Linked DNA regions of Homo sapiens: region 1 is linked to region 2. Evidence: promoter capture Hi-C in 16 types of primary human blood cells and fetal thymus (Javierre and others, 2016). All regions are on one chromosome and are shown on one strand. The core of a region is centred on a gene start or on the middle of the fragment in contact, and the rest is flanking DNA. Distances in the headings are between cores, read along the strand shown. Region 1 overlaps ZNF354A (zinc finger protein 354A). Region 2 holds the start of ZFP2 (ZFP2 zinc finger protein).

Region 1 (4,364 bases), core at 905-3,404, 180 kb before region 2:
AGTTCAACCTTTGCTTCCTCCTAGAATCAAGCCCAGTCCTCAGCTACCTGTTAAACAAGGTGAAGACCTAGGTCAGAAGTTGAGAAGCCAGAATCATCTTGCTGATGGCCACTGCCCTGACCACTTCCTGTTATCAGGTCTAGACTCTTCCACCTGGACTCTCACTACACCCAGAGAGTGTTTCTTCAACCCTATCTCCCTGGATGATTTCATTTACTCCCACACCTCTTATGTGTACGACTATCCTGAAAAATACTTTACAGAGGTCTTTCCAACTGCCGGTTAGAATTTCCACTTGTGTATCTTTCTTTTTAAATTCAGCCTGTCCAAATCTGAACCCAGAGCATTCCTTTTCAAACCTTTTTTATATGTTTTCCAGTTCAAAATGACACCATCATCTCTTCAGTTAATTTACCGTAAATTCTTAGTTTTATCTTAGAATTTCTCTTCCCTAGGCAGTCATCAAAATCTTCATTTTTTTGTTTTTTGAGAGACAGGGTCTTGCTCTGTTGCCCAGGCTGAAATGCACTGGTGCCATCATAGCTCACTGCAGCCTCAAACTCCAGGGCTCAAGCGATTCTCCCACCTCAGCCTCCTGAGCAGCAGGAACTACGGGTGCACACTGCCAAGCTTGGCTAATATTTTTATCTTGCGTAGTGACAGGGTTTCATTGTGTTGCCCAGGCTGCACATTCTCTTAAATCTCATCACTAAAATGTCTCTAATAAGCCATCGTGAATATGTCTAAGTTCAGGATCTCCTCACTGTAGAGTGACTTGCTCCTGATCTTAAGTTATTCCTTTGACCTGTTTCTTGCCTTTCCAGTATTATTTCCCACTGGATTTACCCCTCTTAATACACAGAATTGGTCATGTTATTTCAAAAAGCATTGGTCACGCCTTACTTTATTAATTTATCAAATATTTAAAAAGTACCTACTATGTATTAGGCTCTATCCTAGGCATCGGTGATCCACAGTTCCCTACGGATCCAGTAATTAAAAGGAACAGTTGATTTCTTCAGAGAGTTTATAGTCAGACATTAGAAATGAAGACATCAGTAGGTAATCACAATACAATGTGACAATTTCTACAATAGAAACATAAGCTAGAAATGGACGTGAACACGAGCTTAGAATCATATCCAACTGTCCTTAGATAGTGAGGGTGCAGGTAGAAAAGGGGTGCAGCAGGACGCTGCTGGAGTGTTTCGTAAGAATTGACATATAAGATAGGATGTGAAAGGAATCGCCATAGGCTAGATGAAGGGGTAGCACAAGGGCTGAAGGCAGCACCCAAGTCTTTGAATGCAAGTCAGTTTTCCAGACTTATTTGCTGAAGTATCCACCCCCACCTTATCCTATAGCTAGTCAGAGTAAAAGCTCCACCTATAAAAATGTCACTTGCGGCCGGGCGCGGTGGCTCACGCCTGTAATCCCAGCACTTTGGGAGGCCGAGGCGGGCGGATCACGAGGTCAGGAGATCGAGACCATCCCGGCTAAAACGGTGAAACCCCGTCTCTACTAAAAATACAAAAAATTAGCCGGGCGTAGTGGCGGGCGCCTGTAGTCCCAGCTACTTGGGAGGCTGAGGCAGGAGAATGGCGTGAACCCGGGAGGCGGAGCTTGCAGTGAGCCGAGATCCCGCCACCGCACTCCAGCCTGGGCGACAGAGCGAGACTCCGTCTCAAAAAAAAAAAAAAATGTCACTTGCATTTGCAGTCTCACAAGGTTTTCTAGAGTCAGAGAACTCAAGGAGCAATCTGCTGGGAACTGCACATAAACCATGATGGGGGTAGTACTGCCTATTTGTAAACATCCTCTATCATCTTTGTGCTGGTGGAAAAGAGAAAAGCTGTTTTAGAAATGTTGTTGTGGTAACTCTTATTTTTAAAGCTTTTAACATAGAAATTTTCAGCATATGTAAAAGTAGTGTGAATTGTACAGTGAATCTCCAGCCAGTTTCAATAACCAGCAACACTATTCTATTGACAACCTTGTTATGGGCTGAACCGCATCATTCAAAAGAGAGACGTAGAAGTCCTAACTTCCAGGACCTCAGAACGTGACCTTACTTTAAAATATGGTCTTTGCACGTTCAATCAAATTAAGATGAAGTCATTGGGGTGAGCCCTAATCCAGCGTGACTGCTGTCCCCGTAAACTGGGGAAATTTGGACACAGGCATCCAGAAGGAAAGATGATGTGAAGACACCGGGCGAACACAGTGTGAAGACGGAGGCACAGATAGGACTGATGCAGCTGCAGGCCACGGAGATCTCCAAGTTGGCCATCGCTACAAGCTAGCAAAAGGCAAGGAAGAATTCTATGCAGAGTCTCAGAGGGAGCGGGGCCCTGCGAATATCTTGATTTTGACCTTCAGAACTGTGAGACAGTAAATCTCTACTGTTTTAAGCCACGAAGCTTGTGGTACTTCAGTATGGAGCCCTAGCAAACTAACACAAACCCTTTCATCTCGTCCACTAGGTTATGCTAGAGCACATCCCAGACAGCAAAATCATTTCATCTGTAAAAACATCAAAACCGCTCTTAGCACATCCATCAAAATTAACACCACTGCTTGCAGTTACTTTTGCCCCTAGAATACCTACACTAATAAGTCAAACTGCTGCAATGTAAAGGCAATTCAAATAATTCTTTTTGTGGCTAAGCCACCAACCTGGAACACAATTAGGGTTGTTTCATTCTGCTTTCAATATGTAGGGGGTACTTTCTCATTTTTGTTTAATTTTGTCTTATAATTTTATAAACCATTTTTATAGTTCTGAAGTCAAAATTTTGAGACCTCAAAAAGTCATAGATTCTACCCCTGTTCCATCCTTTTTCTTCCTTCACCTTAGAGATAACCATTTTTATTGATCTCCTTTTTTTTCTTTTGCTTTTATCTTTCTAAAAAAAATAATTGCACTGCTTAATGACTGGGATATGTTCTGAGATACGCGTTGTTGGCGATGTTGTGCAGTCATCAGAGTGTGTTACACAAATCTAGATGGTATAGGCTACTACACACCTAGGCTATACCCCTATACAGCATGTTACTTAGCTGAATACTGTAGGCTACTGTAACACAATTGTAAGTATTTGTGCATCTCAACATATTAAAACATAGAAAAGGGACAGGAAAAATGCAGTATTATCATCTATGGGAGCATCATCATATATGTAGGCTATCATTGACTGAAACATTATGTGCTCCATGACAGTGTAAGTAAATACACACACACTTTTCTTGGTATTCCCACCCACCTTTCTTAGATAACAGTACTAACTGTGCTGTTCTGCACTTATTCTCACATTCTGGAGATCACTCCATAGTAGAAGTTACAGAGGTCCTCCTCATTCCACTTTACAGCTGTGTGGACGTACCACAGTTTATCATCCTTGGAGTGCCTTAGCTTTAGTTCTAGGCCCCCAGTTCTTCTCACTCTGCATCTTTCCACAGGCAACTTCAATCATAGACTCATCCTCTAAGCAAGATATCTCCCATACTCGACTCCCCCTTACAGACGACCTACTCAAAAGAGCAGTTCAGATGCCTCAAAGTCAACACACCTAAAACCACACTCACGATTCTTCCCTCCGACCTGGTCAACCCCTTGTCTCTGTAAATGGCACCACCTCTGAATCAAAACCTTAAGAGTTATCCTTAATAATTCTCCCTCCCTCAGCCCCCTCATCTAATCAATTACCAAGACCTGTTTATTCTGCCATCTAAATCTGCCTCACATTCGTCTACTTTTCCCCATCTACTGCTACCATTCCATCATGAGCCTTGCCTCCAATGTCACCTGCCTCTCCTGATTTTCCTTACAGTACGCTTTTACCTGTCTTCCCTATGGGTTCATTTCTCTCTGCCTGGCTTCCTGAAATGCTGGAGTTCCTCAAGATTCAGTCTTAGGCTCTTTCTTACTCTTACTGTAATGTGAACACTCTCCCTAGGCCAACTCATCCTCTCCCATTATTTCAATCACCCTATATTGATCAGGTTCTCCCAAATTTACATTTCAAGCTCAGTCTACATTTTGAGGTACTGTACTCCGAAATCAACACTACTTGTCATCGCCACTGGGATAACTAGGTCAACCAAAAACAGCTCAATTAATCTAAAACCAAATTTACATCATCTCCAAATCTGATCTCCTTCTAGTGTTCCTATCTCACTGAATGACATCACCAACCGTCACAGAACAAACCAGAAACCAAGCAAGCATCCCTGACAACCCCATCTCCCTTTTGTTTGCTTTTATTTTCTTTGTTACCCCATCTCCTCTATCTTCCATGTCTAACAGTCCTGCTGGCTGTATCTCCTGGACATCCCTGGGACTGGTTCACTTCTTTCTGTCTCCA
Region 2 (4,321 bases), core at 141-2,640:
AAGAGTTTTCTCTGTGACTGTGTGTCTTCAGCAATAAAGATGTTACTTTCCTCCAGGTATAGGGAGTGCAAATCTCACATGAGAATCTTACGACCTGCTTCAGGGGACGTTAGGAAATTCTTCCTAGGTTTTACAACCTGCTTCGTGGGAGATGTGTGGAAAAGTCCTTCCTGTTTCTGCTGTTTTCTCAAATGATGAGGTGCCATATTTTGGCAGTGAGTGTGTGTGTCCTGAACTATATCAGTACGTGTTAGGAGGGAACAAAATTAGATGTGTTGTACCCAATCTGCCTTCTTTTCTTCTTTACTGTATGCTTTGAAGGCTGCAAAATTTCCTCTAAATATTCCCTTTACCTAAATCTTTTCTAAAAAGTTTCTAGTCTTTTAAAAAATGTTTAGCTTAATTACATTGTCAAAGAATATGGTCTTGTGTGATACCAATTGCTTGAAATGTGTTGAGGCTACTTTACAGACTAGTATGAGATCATTTCTTAAGTAAATATATGCTTTTCCATGTGTTTTCTTCAGTTTTGGGGTGGAGTAGTCTACATGTCTATTCATTAACATAAAACTAATTTTGCTTTTCAAATATTTCATATCTATAGTGACCTTTTTGTCAGCTTTTCTATTAGTTACTGAGAAGGTAGGTTAAAAACTCTGAGGCCAGGGTGGTGGCTGACGCCTATAATCCCAGCATTTTGGGAGGCCAAGGCAGGAGCGTTGCTTGAGCCCAGAAGTTTGAGACCAGCTTGGGCAACAGAGTAAGATCCCATCTGTACAAAAAAGAAAGAAAACAAAATTAAAAATGGGTTCTGCCCATGTTTGCTTTATGTATTTTGTATCTTATGTTATTAAATACATAAAAGTTTAAAATATTTTATTTGCTGGTAAATTAATGCCTTTTTTTTTTTTTTAAGACACTCTCTTGCTCTTGTCACCCAGGCTGGAGTGAGGTGGCGCAATATCGGCTCACTGCAACCTCTGCCTCTCAGGTTCAAGTGATTTTCTTGTCTCAGCCTCCCGAGTAGCTGGGACTACAGGTGCCCGCCACCACGCCTGGCTAATTTTTTTTGTATTTTTAGTAGAGACAGGGTTTCACCATGTTAGCCAGGCTGGTCTTGAATTCCTGACCTCAGGTGATTCACCCACCCGCCTCCCAAAGTGCTGAGATTGCAGGCCTGGCCAGAGAGACGACTTTAGCCGGGGTAAGGGGCCGCCTGGGAACCCCGCGTCCCGCCTGGACACACCGATGACCTGCAGAGGCCACACCGTGGGCCACCTCAGCTGGCCACTGGCACAGCCTTGCCCTCTGGGGCCCCGTTCTCGCACACGCCGACGGCCTGGCCGCACTGCAGCCCCGCAGCCTTGTGGGAAATGTAGTCTGGCGCTCCGGGCTGTAAGCGCCGGTCGCGGCTGTGTCGGTCGCCGCTGCTCCCGCTCCTGCTGGGAGAGGGTGAGTGCGGGGCCGGTGGCGGGGGCGCGCGCCATCCGTGAGTCTTGTAGGCCCCCGCAGGAGGAGCTCCGGATTGCGGGGCGAGGCCCCAGCTTCCTGAGGGTTGAGGGGCGGGCCCGCAGCAGATGGGCCGGGGGTGCGGCCTCACTGCGCCTGTGGAGCGCCGGGCCTCCGGCTCCAGGTGCGCTCCCTCTTCCCCAGGAGCTGGCGGCGGGAGCACGCTGGCAGCTGAGTGTCCTTCGGCGCTGTCCTGGGCAGGCGCCGAGGTGGAATCACAGCCCCGGAGCAGCGGGGATGGGGGCTCGAACAAGGGCCACGCCGGCCACCACGGGTCAGGGAGGGGCCCAAGGTTCCAAGAGTCGCTCGGACCCGGGTTCCTCCCTGGCTTTCCCCAGCCGCGCGCAGCTTTGTCCCGGGACACGCTGCGACCGTGGAGCGAACCTAACCCGCGGACATCCCGGGGATTCTGGGCCAGAGGCTGGGTCTCCCTGTGCAGCATCTGCCCTTTGTGTAAACCGGGTCTCCGGACCCGCCCTCTGGATCTCATTCCGAGAGCGCTGGCGTGGGCTCCCCTCCCATCTCACAATAAGAATGGGGAGGCCAACCTGGTGCAGGTTTCGACCTCGGGGAATCTTTTCTTTTTTTCCTTAAGCGATTTCACTGTAGCACAACTGGAAAATTGAGATTAAAACAATCATTCAAAATCTATCTCCATCTGCATGGCAGCGTGGATATGTGTATAAGCATAGAAACACTTTGTACTTTGTTTTTAAACAGAAATATGAATATTAGCAGCTTTTTCTCCATCTATCTTTTAAAACTGAGTCATGAGATGCATTTGGTAAGGGGTTTGAAGTGCACAAATCTTAAGCCTTGTAATTTTTTACTGGCCTAAACACCCAATGAAGATAGAGAATACATCTGAAAAAAACATTGGAATATGTTGACACCATCTACTTATACCAGATTTTAAATAGAGCTACGTCATTTTAATGAGTGTGAGGGAAAGTATGGATGTGTCGTATTGAATCCTCTCCTTAGGTTTTTGTGTTAGGGTTTTCTTTTTTCTTTTTTTTTTTCAGTATTATAAACAGTATAGGCCATCTGGCTACATACATCTTTGCATTTTGTCTTATTCTATAAATCTCTTAAAGTGAAATTTCTAGGTCCAGGGTACAGTAAGGATTTTGATACCTCCTGTCTTATTCCCTCCAGAAAAGTTGCAGTTTATATAAACACTTGCAGTGTAAGAGTGCCAGATTTACCCACACCAACTGTGAATGTTAGTATTCTCTTGAACTTCTGAGAGGTGCAAAAGATAGGATTGTTTACATTTGCATTTTGAACACTAATGAATATTTTCACGCAGTTTGCATTTTGTATTTTAATTTTGTATCTGATACATAAGCATGTTTCCTGACTGTGCAGAAACGTCACAGGTTCTTATGGTCACACATGAAAACCTTTTCTTCACGTTTGGGTGTTTGACATCACTGGCAGAGAAGCTGTCTGTCCCACGAGATTACAAAAATGTTTGTAGTTTCTCTTAGTACTTTCATTTTTTGTGTACATTTTTATTTTTTTCCAAATGGTAAGCCTTTGTTACAAGTTACTTAGTAATTTTTTCTTCGTTGATATGAAATGTCACTTATTTCATATCTTGAATGAAATATATATATACACACACATACATAAATACATGTGTATTTGAACCATTTAGGTTGGTAGAATTTTAATTTGTTCCATTGATGCTTTTCCCTGTTCGGCTATAACATCCATGATTGCGGAGAGTTTATCTGTTTTATTTACAGCTGTATCCACCCCTACCCCATGCAATGGTGCCTAGTATACAGTAGGTGGTCAACAATGTATCTGGTAAATAAGTCAGTAATATTGTGTTCCAATTCTTGTAGCTTTATGAATACTGGTGGGCAAGTTGTCTCTCATCAGTATTCTTTTTTAAAAAAGTCTTAGTTGTTGTAACACACAACTTAAATATTTTTTCCATAATTAGTGAACTTCTTTTTTTTTATTGAGACGGAGTCTTGCTCTGTCACCGAGGCTAGAGTGCAGTGGTGTGATCTCGACACTGCAACCTCTACCTCCCCGGTTCAAGTGATTCTCCTGCCTCAGACTCCTGAGTGGCTGGGATTACAGGCGCCCACCACCACTCTCTAATTTTTGTATTTTTGGTAGAGACAGGATTTTGCCATTTTGGCCAGGCTGGTCTCGAACTCCTGGCCTCAAGTGGTCCACCCACCTTGGCCTCCCAAAGTGCTGGGATTACAGGCGTGAGCCACCGCGCATGGCCCATATTAACTGTAAAATATTGTTACTTAGGCATAACTTGGCTGGGAATGTGTTAAGTTTATGAATTAAAGAAATGACATCCTGGTATATTGAGACATATTGTGCAAGAATATGTCATGTCTCTCTGTCTTTCGTCTTTGTATAGCTAAATAGGCATAATGAAGTGAACTTAATACATGAAAATCATTTTCTTTATGTAGCTACTATCCAGGTCTTATTTAGTTTATTTATAGGTATTTTCATTGTTGCTGTTGCAGGAGTCTTGTTTCTCATGGCTTCTTTCCCTTCCCTCAGCTCTGCCTCCTTTGGCTTCTGTCCCTCCCCAAGGAAGAACCCCACAGGAAGGAAGGAGAAGGCAATGGCTGCTTGGCCTCTGCCATTGGGAGCTCGGGTGAGCTCATTTTTCCCTCTCAAACCTCCCCCTTCCTCCTGTACTGCATGTGGGCCTCACTGCTCAGGACAGGGTTATTGAAATAGCAGAATGCTGGATATTTTTCACAAAGCCCCCTCTGTGTTCCTGACCTCTGTTCCTAGCTGCCACTTACTCAGCTGGATACCC

What was found. Contacts are between HindIII fragments. The CHiCAGO score rates a contact against its expected background, and 5 or more counts as called.
Region 1: a fragment that was not itself captured here is called in contact with the fragment with the promoter of ZFP2 in region 2 in 1 of 17 cell types (activated CD4 T cells); the score reaches 5.8 in activated CD4 T cells.

What each region holds. Positions count from the first base shown.
Region 1 is chr5:178,718,261-178,722,624 of GRCh38, forward strand. The region is part of intron 4 of ZNF354A (zinc finger protein 354A); the gene reads right to left. Among named protein-coding and RNA genes, the nearest start is that of ZNF354A, 10 kb to the right of the region's middle. The HindIII fragment of the contact is 527 bases long and covers 1,892-2,418 here.
Region 2 is chr5:178,894,523-178,898,843 of GRCh38, forward strand. ZFP2 (ZFP2 zinc finger protein) reads left to right here and starts at 1,391. Exons shown (of 5, transcript NM_030613.4): 1 at 1,391-1,452. RefSeq lists an enhancer at 1,104-1,293 and silencers at 1,404-1,513, 1,584-1,633. The HindIII fragment of the contact is 12,652 bases long and covers 1-4,321 here.